Linked DNA regions of Homo sapiens: region 2 is linked to region 1. The links are contacts of gene promoters, found by promoter capture Hi-C in blood cells and fetal thymus (Javierre and others, 2016). All regions are on one chromosome and are shown on one strand. The core of a region is centred on a gene start or on the middle of the fragment in contact, and the rest is flanking DNA. Distances in the headings are between cores, read along the strand shown.

Region 1 (6,074 bases), core at 2,188-4,687:
GTGGTGTGATCTCAGCTCACTGCAACCTTTACCTCCCACCTGGAAGGTAGATGTTAGCGTAGGGTGGTGAAAGGCTTGTGCACTCATCTTAATCTTAAATATATACCTTGGCCAGGCAAGGAGGCTCACGGCTGTAATCCCAGCACTTTTGGAGGCTGAGGCTGGCAGATCGCCTAAGGCCAGGAGTTTGAGACCAGCCTGGGCAACATGGCAAAACCCCATTTCTACTAAAAATACAAAAATTACCCAGGCGTGGTGGCATGTGCCTGTGGTCCTAGCTACTCAGGAGGCTGAGGTGGGTGAATTACTTGAGCCTGGGAGGTGGAGGTTGCACTGAGCCAAGATGGCACCACTGCATTCCAGTCTGGGCAACAGAGGCAGACCCTGTCTCAAAAAATAAAAATAAATTTTAAAAAATTGAAAAAATACATATCTCAATGATTGTATGTATATAATGATTTTATATATAAATGATTTATATATTACTTTATCTATATTAAATGTCTATATAAGACAGATATGTAATTTCCAGCACTCCATAAGATTTCCTTGGGAGCTTCCTCATCTACCTCTGCCTCCAGGGGTAACCTGGTATGCACTATATACTCTTTTTCTCTTTTTTTTTTGAGATGGAGTCTTGCTCTGTCGCCCAGGCTGGAGTGCAGTGGCGTGATCTCGGCTCACTGCAAGCTCCGCCTCCCAGGTTCACACCATTCTCCTGCCTCAGCCTCCTGAGTAGCTGGGACTACAGGCGTCCGCCACCATGCCTGACTGATTTTTTTGTATTTTTTAGTAGAGACAGGGTTTCACCGTGTTAGCCAGGATGGTCTCAAATCTCCTGACCTCGTGATCCACCCACCTCGGCCTCCCAAAGTGCTGGGATTACAGGCGTGAGCCACTGCGCCCGGCCCTATATACTCTTTTATCTACCTCTTTTTGTGCTCAGCATAGTGTCTGAGCTTCATCTATATTGTATGTACCAGTAGTTCATCCTCCTATTACTTTGTAATACAGAAAAAAACTGAGAAAAGCTTTGAAATGGTCTAAAACAGATTACTGGGGCCAGGCATGGTGGCTCAAGCCTGTAATCCCAGTACTTTGGGAGGCCAAGGCAGGCAGATCACCTGAGGTCAGAAGTTCATGACCAGCCTGGACCACATGGTGAAACCCCATCTCTACTAAAAATACAATAAATTAGCCAGGCGTGGTGGCACGTACCTGTAGTCCCAGCTGCTCGGGAAGCTGGGGCAGGAAAATCGCTTGAACCTGGGAAGTGGAGGTTGCAGTGAGCTGAGATCACACCACTGTACTCCAGTCTGGGTGACAGAGCAAGACTCCATCTAAGACAAACAACAAAAAAATGATTACTGGGTGTCATTGAAAAACAAGGTGCCCAGCTGTCCAGCTTACTTTTCTAGGATGTCTGATTCTATGAAGACTCTAAACCTTTCACTGTCTTTGAGCTACAGAACAACTATACAAACTATAGACACTTCTTGTCTATAGAAATGCAAATTGTGGCCGGGCACGGTGGCTCATGCCTGTAATCCTAACACTTTGGGAGGCCAAGACAGGCGGATCACCTGAGGTCAGGAGTTCGAGACCAGCCTGGCCAACACGGTGAAACCCTGTCTCTACTAAAATACAAAAAGCTAGCTGGGCATGATGGCGGGTGCCTGTAATCCCAGCTACTCGGGAGGCTGAGACGGGAGACTCTATTGAACCTGGGAGATGGTGGTTGCGGTGAGCCGAGCTTGCGCCACTGCACTCCAGCCTGGGCGGCTGAGTGAGACTCCGTCTCAAAAAAAAAAAAAAAAAAAGAAATGCAAATTGTTTTCAGTAGAATGCAATTGATTACTAAGCTGTGGATTTCATCAGTTCTGCCAGTTTTTGTATATATTTGTAGTTATTTCATTATTCCTCATTTGACTATGTGTGTGGTACTTTGAATTTTCCATTGAAGCAGTTGTAATCTTTCTGGATATCTCATTCATTAATGAGTTAAATAAAATCTCTAACATTTATTTTATATCTGTATTATATTTGATATTAAAATTATTCTTCAACAGTAGTATACAGTTATATGAATAAGCTGCAATTTATCTATTCATCTATTGGTGGACATCTGGGTTTTTTCCCTTTGGCTATTATGAATAAAGCTGCTATGAGTCTTTTGGTGAATAAAGGCATTCATTTTTTGGGGTAAATATCTAGAAATGGGATTTCTGGGGTATAGGGTAGGGGTAAATTTGATTTCAGTAGAGACTGATGTTTCCAAAGTGGTTGTACCATTTTACACTCCCATCAACACTGTATGAGAGTCCCATTTCTGCATCTTTGCAACTAAGGGAATTGTCAGTCTTTTCATTTCAGCTATTCTATGGAGTGTTTAATAGTATCATATTTTGGTTTCAATTTACCATAGAAGATTTTCAGGAGGGAGGTAACTTGAACAGATTTTTACATTTTAGAAAACTCTTTCTGCGTATTATGTGGAGAATGATTATTTGTATACCAAAGTTCATAGCAGCATTATTCACAATAGCCAAAAGGTGGGAATAACCAAGCATCCATTTATATGGATGAATGGATAAACAAAATGTAGTATACATGTATAATGGAATATTATTTAGCCTCAAGAAGGAAGAAATTCTGATACATGCTACAACATAGATGCTCCTTGAAGACATTATGCTAAGTGAAATAAGCCAATCAGAAAAGAGCAATTATTGTATGATTCAATTTATATGCGGTACCTCGCACTTACAGACAGAAAGTGCAATATCGGCTATAAGGGGTTGTGAGAAACGGGTAACGGGGAGTTACTGTGTAACAGGCAGATTTTCTATTTGGGATAATGAAAAAGTTCTGGAGATGGATAGTGGTGATGGTTTCACAACAATGTGAATGTACTTAATGCCAGTGAACTGTACACTTAAAAATGGTGAATTTTATGTTAGATAGATTTTATCACACACACAAAGAGGAGGGAGGGCGGGAGGGAAGGAGAGAGGGAAGGAAGTAGAGAGGGGAGAAGAGAGGAAGAAAGGAAAGAAAGTAAGATCTGGCATCACAGGGCCCACATTCCCGCGTGTCAGCAATAGGCTGAAACAGAAGCATGGTTTCTCACGTGTCCATGGAGGCATCTGAGTGTGTGCCCACTTTCCCGGTTCAATGACAATTTGCACCTGCTCGTGTAGAGGGGTACGGGTGAAACAGAGACCAGTATTATTAAGGGGATGGAGAGGAGAGACCGCCAAAACATCGCAGAGACACACCGTCGGAACCAAGAGAATGGGGTGCAGACGCCTGGCTTGGCCTGTGGGAACTGGCAAGTCTCAGCTCTCAAACGCCCGGGCTTTTCAACCCGCCACAGCCGGGTTCCAGCTGCCTACTTCCTTTAAAGCCTTCACCGACTCTAAAACACCAAAAACAAAGACCCAACTAGCTCCGGAAGCCCGAGATGTAACCGTAGTCATCTGACCCTCCCGTCCGGACTCTGATTGGGCTTTGGAGATACGCGTCCCTCCCGGCGCTGTACGGCGACCCCGCCCCAGCAGCCTGAGGGGGCGGGAACAGATGTCCGAGTGCGACAGTATTGGTCGGCTTCCCCAGGAAGCAGCCAATCGGAATAGGCAAGCTTCCGGCGGGAAGTGAGCCAGGGCTTGGCGCGGCGGCCGTGGTTGCGGCGCGGGAAGTTTGGATCCTGGTTCCGTCCGCTAGGAGTCTGCGTGCGAGGTGAGTACCGCGCGCGTAACTACGGGTCGGTCCGCATTGATCTAGCCCTGCTCTGGCGGCCCGGCCCGGAGCTGGAGGCCGCTCGGGTTCTTCCGTTTCCTGCACTGGTTCGCCTCGGCCCGCTGAGTCCTCTAGTCTGGCCAACATCCTGGGAGGACAGCAGATACATAAATACGTTCCCAAATGGGGAAACAGAGGCCCGGGGCGGGGGCGAACTCTGCCAAGGTCTCCCGGGGCGTCGGAGGCCGAGCATGGGCTAGGACCTGGCATGTTGTTGCCCATATACTCCAGTGCGTAACATGATGCCCTGCACAGAGTAATCCCAGCCCAGACCTCTGGCACTACTACCTCCGTGTCCCTCCTGAGGAACAACGAAAACACTTTGTACTTTTTCTGTGGCCTTCCATAATCACGAGCTGGGCTACTCTTGTTTTTGAGTGTCTACTGTGTGCCATGTTCCTGGCACCCTTGATCTTACAACTGTAGCTTTACGATATCCCAGCAAAGCGAAGTGCTTAAGAATACTGCATCAGATTGCTTGGGTTCGAATTCTGGCTCCTTCACATTTAGCTCTGTGTCTACTGCACGTTACTGAAACACTAAGTGTCTTGGTTTTCGTCTGTCATATGGGGGAAATGGTCTCTTCTACTTCCTGGCGTTTTTGTTAGGATTAAACGACTTAATATATGCAATAATAAATGCTTCGAAGGCTACCTGTTACATAGTACACAGTAAGGGTTCTGTTATCATTACCCAGAGAAGCGGATGAAATTGTCCCCATTTTAGACATGGAGAATCTGAAGTACAAAGAGGTTGTCTCCGTACAGAAAGAGCATTTGGTGATTAAGTGCTAGAGATACAGGATTTGAACTAAGCGCCTGATTTTAAAGTATGTCCCACAACATTAGGCTTTCTCCTATAGCCCTCACCTGTCCTTAGGTCACACAGAACTTTAGGTACCTCATGGCGTGAGATGGAGCAGGTGACTGACAGCTCCTTGTGCCACCCATGCAGATAAATAACACTGGTGTGTCACTGTCAAGATTAAGGGACAGGAATTCGAGAGACTGCATGAGAGATCAGAAGATGAAGAAGCGGGTAGGCAAAAGTATTCTGTTTGGGGAATAGTAAATAGAATTAATTAAATCAACATTTTGTTAGCTGGGCTGCTTATACTGTCAGACAGTAGCTTATAATCTACTGGGAAGAAATGAAATTTCTGGGTCCTGTGTCACTTTCAATGCCACTCACCATGACAGGTACCTTATAAGTATAGTTTACAGTCCTATCAGTAACCTGGAGAAGTAGTTATTTCCTTCGTTTTACTGAGGAAACCAAGAGTTAAAAAATCAGGAAAAGTGTTAGATGTGCAGTAGAACATCATCATGCTGGGAAGTTCTACACATCCGCTTCAGGACAGGTGGTATTACCTATGAGCAGGAAGGGAAGGGAAAAAGGTAAGGGGAATGAGTGATAGTTTATTGTTTTGATTTTTAAATTTTTATCTGTTTTTTCCTTTTTCATAGTCATTCCTGGAATGAGTGAGTTTGTTTTTGTTTTTGTTTTTGGGGGATGGAGTCTCGCTCTGTCGCCCAGGCTGGAGTGCAGTGGCGCGATCTTGGCTCACTGCAAGCTCCGCCTCCCGGGTTCATGCCATTCTCCTGCCTCAGCCTCCCAAATAGCTGGGACTACAGGCACCCACCACCACGCCCAGCTAATTTTTTGTATTTTTAGTAGAGACGGGGTTTCACTGTGTTAGCCAGGATGGTCTCGATCTCCTGACCTCGTGATCCGCCTGCCTCCGCCTCCCAAGGTGCTGGGATTACAGGCGAGCCACCGCGCCCGGCCATGAGTGAGATTTTAAATATATCTGAAATGAGGCCAGGCACAGTGGCTCACACCCATAATCCCAGCACTTTGGGAGGATGAGGCGGGCGAATCACCTGAGGCCAGGAGTTCGAGACTTGCCTCACCAACATGGCGAAACTCCCTCTCTATAGTAAATACAAAATTATCTGGGCGTGGTGGTGTGCGCCTGTGGTTCTAGCTACTGGGGAGGCTGAGGCACGAGAATCGCTTGAACCCAGGAGGCTGCAGTTAGTCAAGATTGCACCACTGCACTCCAGCCTGGGTGACAGAGTGAGAGTCCGTCAGTCAATCTACCTGAAATGTTTTATGCCTTTAAAAGAGAGAGAATAGGGCCGAGTTTAACTTTTTAAATTTGGTTGGTGGGTACATGGGTGTAATTCTATTTTCTGTATCTTTATGTAAGAAATATTAAAAATTAAAAGATATACATATATATTTTAATTTACATATATATGTGTTTTTTTCTA
Region 2 (6,074 bases), core at 1,929-4,428, 330 kb before region 1:
TGAGAATTGCTTGAACCCGGGAGGCAGAGGTTGCAGTGAGCCAAGATGCACCACTGCACTCCAGCCTGGGTGACAGAGCGAGACTCAGTCTCAAAAAAAAAAAAAAAAAATTCTTCTGTCAGACACTTAGATCATCACCCTTTAGTTAAAAGTTCCACAGATCCCTAGGGCGTGGACAGAACACAGCCAAGCTCTTTGCTAAGACACAACAAATGTGACCTTTGTTTTAGTTCTCAAGAAGTTTCTCACTTCCATCTGAGACCTTGTCAGCCTGGCCTTCATTGTCCATATCACTATCAGCATTTTGGTTGAAACTATTTAACCAGTCTCTAAGAAGTTCCAAACTTTCCCTCACCTTCCTATCTTCTTCTGAGCCCTCCAAACTCTTCCAACCTATACTTGTTACCCAGTTGCAAAGTCGGTTCCACATTTTCAGGTATCTTTATGGCAGTGCCCTACTCCTTGGTACCAATTTTCTGTGTTGGTCCATTTTTGCATTGCTAGAAAGAAATACCTGAGACTGGGTAATTCCTTTTCCTTTTTCTGAGACAGAGTCTTGCTCTGTTACCCAGGCTGGAGTGCAGTGGTGCAATCTTGGCTCACTGCAACTTCCACTTCCTGGGTTCAAGTGATCCTCCTGCCTCAGCCTCCGGAGTAGCTGGGATTATAGGCACACACCATCACACCTTGCTATTTTTTTTTCTTTTTTTAGTAGAGATGGGGTTTCATTGTGTTGATCAGGCTGGTCTTGAACTCCTGACCTCAAGTGATCCACCCACCTCTGCCTCCCAAAGTGCTGGGATTATAGGTGTGAGCCACTGTGCCTGGCTGAGACTGGGTAATTTATAAGAAAAGAAATTTAATTGGCTCACGGTTCTGAAGACTGTACAGGAAGCATAGTGGCATCTGCTTCTGGGGAGGCCTCAGGAAGCTTCCAATCATGGTGGAAGGTGAATGGGGAGGAGGCGCATCACATGGTGAAATCAAGAGTGAGAGACAGAGTGCCACACACTCTTAAATGACCAGATCTCATGAAAACTCACTCCCTATCACAAGAACAGCAGCAAGGGAATGGTGCTAAACCATTCAAGAGAAAACCGCCCCCATGATCCAATCACCTCCCACCAGGCCCCATCTCCAACACTGGGGATTATAGTTCAACATGAGATTTGGATGGGGACCAATATCCAAACTATGTCAACAATTGTGTTACTTCTCCATCTACTTTTCTCCTGGTAGCTGGCTAGTTTCTCTTAACACTGATTGTAAGACCTATCCTGATTTCAGAGGCATTTAAATATAAAAAAAATTGGGACTTATTTCTTGAAAATGTTGTACTTACTAGACAGTAAGACTTATTTCTGAAGATACCTGGTTTCTAAAAGTACTACTGGGAAATATAATAAATGAGGAAGTGATTAATTTTGCCTGGGGAGTAGGTGACATTTGAATTGGGTCTGGGAGGTTCAGTAGGAGTTTCCCAGGCAGATAATAGGCTAAAAGGTATTCCAAGCAAGGGAAACTTCTATTATGGTGCTTATCTCAAGATATCCTGTTAATATTGCTTGACTCCTCCTGGCTTGTAAATTCTTTGTGGTCATTAACCAATTTTGACTCCCAAAATGACCATTTACCTCATTATTTTGCCGTTTATTCATTTCATATTTACTAATTTTATTCATATTTATATTTGCTGACAAAATAGTATTTCCAGCAGCTCATTTTAAATACAGACAAGCAAGCAAGCAAACCCCACACAAATCCAGTGTAATAGCACTGCCTGGAGAAGCCACTGTTAATATATTGGTGTATATACTTCAAGGCTTTATCTATTCATATGCACATATCCATCAATGTATCTATCTATCTAGCTACATTTAAAACAAAATGGTATCATATTTATTAGTCATAATTTGATATATTAACTTAACCACAATATTAAAATATTGTACTGCCAGCCTGTACATTTTTTGCCTGCCCAGCCTCCCACTGAAGGAAATTATGCCCAGCTCATAGTTCTCTATGCTTAATTATCTGTATCTCCTGATCATAGTTGATTGAAGTAAAGGATCAGCATCCAATCTAAGGGCAGCCTGCCTGTGGGTGGTCAGAGATTTACCCACAGGGTGGAAAGCTGAGCTGGGTCAATCATATGCCACTCTATGGGTTATGGAGTTAGGCAATTGAGATGATCCTCAATGGAGCTGATGATGTAAGGATACCATGACCTTCAGTCAAAGCCATGGCAAGGCAAGCAGAAACAAGAGTTGTGAGGGAACAGAAAAAATTAAATGGAGTAAGCTGGTTAGCAAAGAGTGGAGAGTAGAGCCAGCCTGTGGAAAAGCAGAGATGCCCAGAGAATGAAACCATGACTTCAAGCTTTCATTAGTCCTGTTTTTTTTTGTTTAGTGTAGTTTTGTTTTTGGTGCAGTTCCAGTCCATATAGGTCTGTATAAGAAAGGCCTCCCTTCCAGCCTTTTTTCCTCTAGAAGTAAAACTGTGCATGTCTGTTTCCTGTAGCCAGTCAAGCCTGACCAGACCACAGATCATCACTGTTCATGGCTATATGGCATTCTATTGTGTATAGCTGCCATCACTGATTTAAACACCTACTGATGGACATTTGAGTAATTTCCAAGGAGCATCTTCATGGATAACTTTTGCACATTTAATAAAAGCACGATATCCTTATGATACATTCCAAGAAGTGAAGTTTTTTGGTTGAAGAATAGATGCATAATGATAAGCTGGTCTTTAGAAAGACTATATTAATTTATTGCCTACTAACATTGCATAAGAGTGGTTGCTTTTTCACCCCCTTGCCAATAATATCAATTAAAAAGACAAACCAAAATGTTGCTACATATGATAGGCAAGAAGTGATATGTGGCATGTTATCTTTTCTATTTTTTTTTTTTTTGGTGATGGGTCTCACTCTGTCTACCTGGGCAGGAGCACAGTGGCGGGATCACAGCTCACTGCAGCCTCAACTCCCAGGCTCAAGCGATCCTCCCACCTCAGCCTTTTGGGTAGCATGCCACCACGCTGGGCTAATTTTTTGTATTTTCTGTAGAGACGGGGTTTTTCATTTTGCCCAGGCTGGTCTTGAACTCCTGGCCTCAAGCAATCCTCTCTCCTCTGCTTCCCAAAGTGCTGGGGGGTATAGGTGTGAGCCGTTGTGCCTGGCCAGCATGTTATTATCTTAATGTCTATTTCTCTGAATCTTGAGTTTATTGACTAGGAATTGGGCTTTGTCATTAGACAGGCCTGGGTTTGAGTTCCAGCTCTGCCTCTTGCTGTGTGGCTTCAGGTAAGTAACCCAGTTCTCCATTTTCCCAAGTGTAAAATGGACATAATGGGATTATTACAAGGATCAGCTGAGAAAATAAATGTGCAACACTTAGTATAGTAAGGTACCAGTGCAGTTGGTAACTTAACATCTCTGTGGCTTTCACCTCAGACAAACTTTGTAATTAAGTAAAGAAAGCCTTTATGGAATGAACAATTGGATTAATATGTTGGAGTTAAGAAGAAATATTTCGGCTGGGCATGGTGGCTCATGCCTATAACCCCAGCACATTGGGAGGCCAAGGTGGGCAGATCACTTGAGGTCAAGAGTTCGAGACCAGCCTGGCCAACATGGCAAAACCTCACCTCCAGTAAAAATACAAAAATTAGCCGGGTGTGGTCGTGTGCGCCTGTAAGCCCAGCTACTCAGGAGGCTGAGGCAGGATAATCACTTGAACTTGGGAGGCTGAGGTTGCAGTGAGCCGAAATCACGCCACTGCACTCCAGCCTGGGTGACAGAGTGAAACTCTGTCTCAAAAAAAAAAAAAAAAAAAGAAGAAGAAGAAGAAATATTTCACATTTTATGTATTCGCAATGTTTAAGAAAATTTGGCCGACTTGAATGACAGCTTTTTTGTAAATCATTTTAAATGTGTAATTGAGTTAGTTTTAGACTTAGGTTTTTGAGTTGAAAGCTTACTAAGTTTACACATGGAATCAGGCCATCTAAGAGAATGTTAGCTTTGTTATGCTTGTATGTTTATTTATAGGAATTACTAAGTTTTGAAAAAGTTTTAAACAATTGAATGAATTAAAAAGAAAATCTAGGCCGGGCACAGTGGTTCACGCCTGTAATCCAAGCAGTTTGGGAGGCAGAGGTGGGTGGATCACCTGAGGTCAGGAGTTCAAGACCAGCCTGGGCAACATGGTGAAATCCCGTCTCTACTAAAAATACAAAAATTAGCTGGGCGCGGTGGTGCGTGCCTGTAATCCCAGCTACTCAGGAGGCTGAGGCAGGAGAATCGCTTGAGCCCAGGAGGCAGAGGTTGCAATGAGCCAAGATTGTGCCATTACACTCCAGCCTGTGCGACAGAGTGAGACTCCGTCTCAAAAAAAAAAAAAAGTTTTGAAAAAGTTTTATACGATTGAATGAACTAAAAAGAAAATCTAGGCCAGGTGCGGTGGCTCATGCCTGTAATCTTAGCACTTTGGGAGGCCGAGGCCAGTGGATCACAAGGTCAGGAGTTTGAGACCAGCCTGGCCAATATAGTGAAACCCCATCTCTAATAAAAAAATATATATATATATAAAATTAGCCAGGTGTGGTGGCGGGTGCCTGTAATTCCAGCCACTTGGGAGGCTGAGGCAGAAGAATCCCTTGAACCCGGGAGGCGGAGGTTGCAGTGAGCTGAGATTGCACCATTGCACTCCAGCCTGGGTGACAAGAGTGAAACTCCATCTCAAAAGAAAAAAAAAAAGAAAATGTAATAGGAAATCTAATATAGACAATATAATAGGCACAATTTATTCTTTATTATTATTTTTTATTTTTATTTATTTATTTTTTTGAGATGGAGTCTCGCTCTATTGCCTAGGCTAGAGTGCAGAGGCATGATCTTGGCTCACTGCAAGCTCCGCCTCCAGGGTTCACGCCATTCTCCTGCCTCAGCCTCCCGAGTAGCTGGAATACAGGTGCCCGCCACCATGCCCGGCTAATTTTTTTTTTTTTTGTGTTTTTAATAGAGCTGGGGTTTCACCGTGTTAGCCTGGATGGTCTCAATATCCTGACCTCGTGATTCGCCCACCTCGGCCTCCGAAAGTGCTAGGATTACAGGCGTGAGCCACCGTGCCCGGCAATTATTATTATTTTTTAAAAGACAGTCTCGCTCCGTCAACCAGGCTGGATTGCAGGAGCACAATCTCGGCTCACTGCAACCTCTGCCTCCTGGGTTCAAGTGATTCTCCTGCCTTAGCCTCCCGAGTAGCTGGGACTACAGGCGTGTGTCACCATACTAAGCTAATTTTTTTGTATTTTAGTAGAGACGGGGGTTTCACCATGTTGGCCAGGCTGCTCTCGAACTCCTGACCTAAGGTGATCCACCCACCTTGACCTCCCAAAGTGCTCGGATTACAGGTGTGAGCCACTGTGCCTGCCCTAGTAGGCATAATTTTAAATATTTGAAGATGTTGAATTAACTGAGTGAGACTTAAAAAAAAATTTTCAGGAAATTTCAGAATGCTCTATGTCCTCGTTGCCATTGCGGCTGCCTTTCTCAAGAATGCCTGGCCTAAGGAGCGGGTGCTGGTCCTGTTCCTCACCATCGGGGGCCTAGCTATAAATCTGACCCCAGTCTGCCCCTATACCATGTACTCCACCAGGATCAACTAGGCCACGCCCCACAACAACCCAGTGCCCCTCCGAGATGATGGGAACATGCTGGACATGCCCAGCCACCCCCAAGGCCCAAGCATGGAGTGGTTGAAGAAACTGCAAGCACTTCCATTGACATGGAGAAGACCATGTCCCCTGTGGCCCCCAATAAAAATGTGACCCCCCCGCCTCCGAAATAAATAAATCATTCAGTTTCTGAAAAGTGTTTGGTAAAATGTGCTAGACTTATAAATAGAATAATACAATTTGTAAAGTGAACTTAAAAGCTTAAGAATGAAATAACTTTTTACTTTGTAGGCTTAATAAATGAAACCCTTGCCCACTTTTCTACAGGGGTGTTTTGTTCTTACAGGTTTTCAAGTATCTTTAATAGTCTGAAGGAAGAGTGAATACAT

What was found. The method cuts DNA at HindIII sites, captures the fragments that hold promoters and counts their contacts. A CHiCAGO score of 5 or more calls a contact.
Region 2: a fragment that was not itself captured here is called in contact with the fragment with the promoter of CRTC3-AS1 in region 1 in 3 of 17 cell types (activated CD4 T cells, total B cells and fetal thymus); the score reaches 6.5 in activated CD4 T cells.

Annotation. Positions count from the first base shown.
Region 1 is chr15:90,713,703-90,719,776 of GRCh38, forward strand. It overlaps CRTC3-AS1 (CRTC3 antisense RNA 1), which reads right to left and starts at 3,438. Exons shown (of 4, transcript NR_120372.1): 1 at 3,279-3,438. It overlaps BLM (BLM RecQ like helicase), which reads left to right and starts at 3,644. Exons shown (of 22, transcript NM_000057.4): 1 at 3,644-3,738. The HindIII fragment of the contact is 2,609 bases long and covers 1,030-3,638 here.
Region 2 is chr15:90,380,278-90,386,351 of GRCh38, forward strand. It overlaps the pseudogene NDUFA3P4. Among named protein-coding and RNA genes, the nearest start is that of IQGAP1, 4.9 kb to the right of the region's middle. The HindIII fragment of the contact is 1,603 bases long and covers 2,378-3,980 here.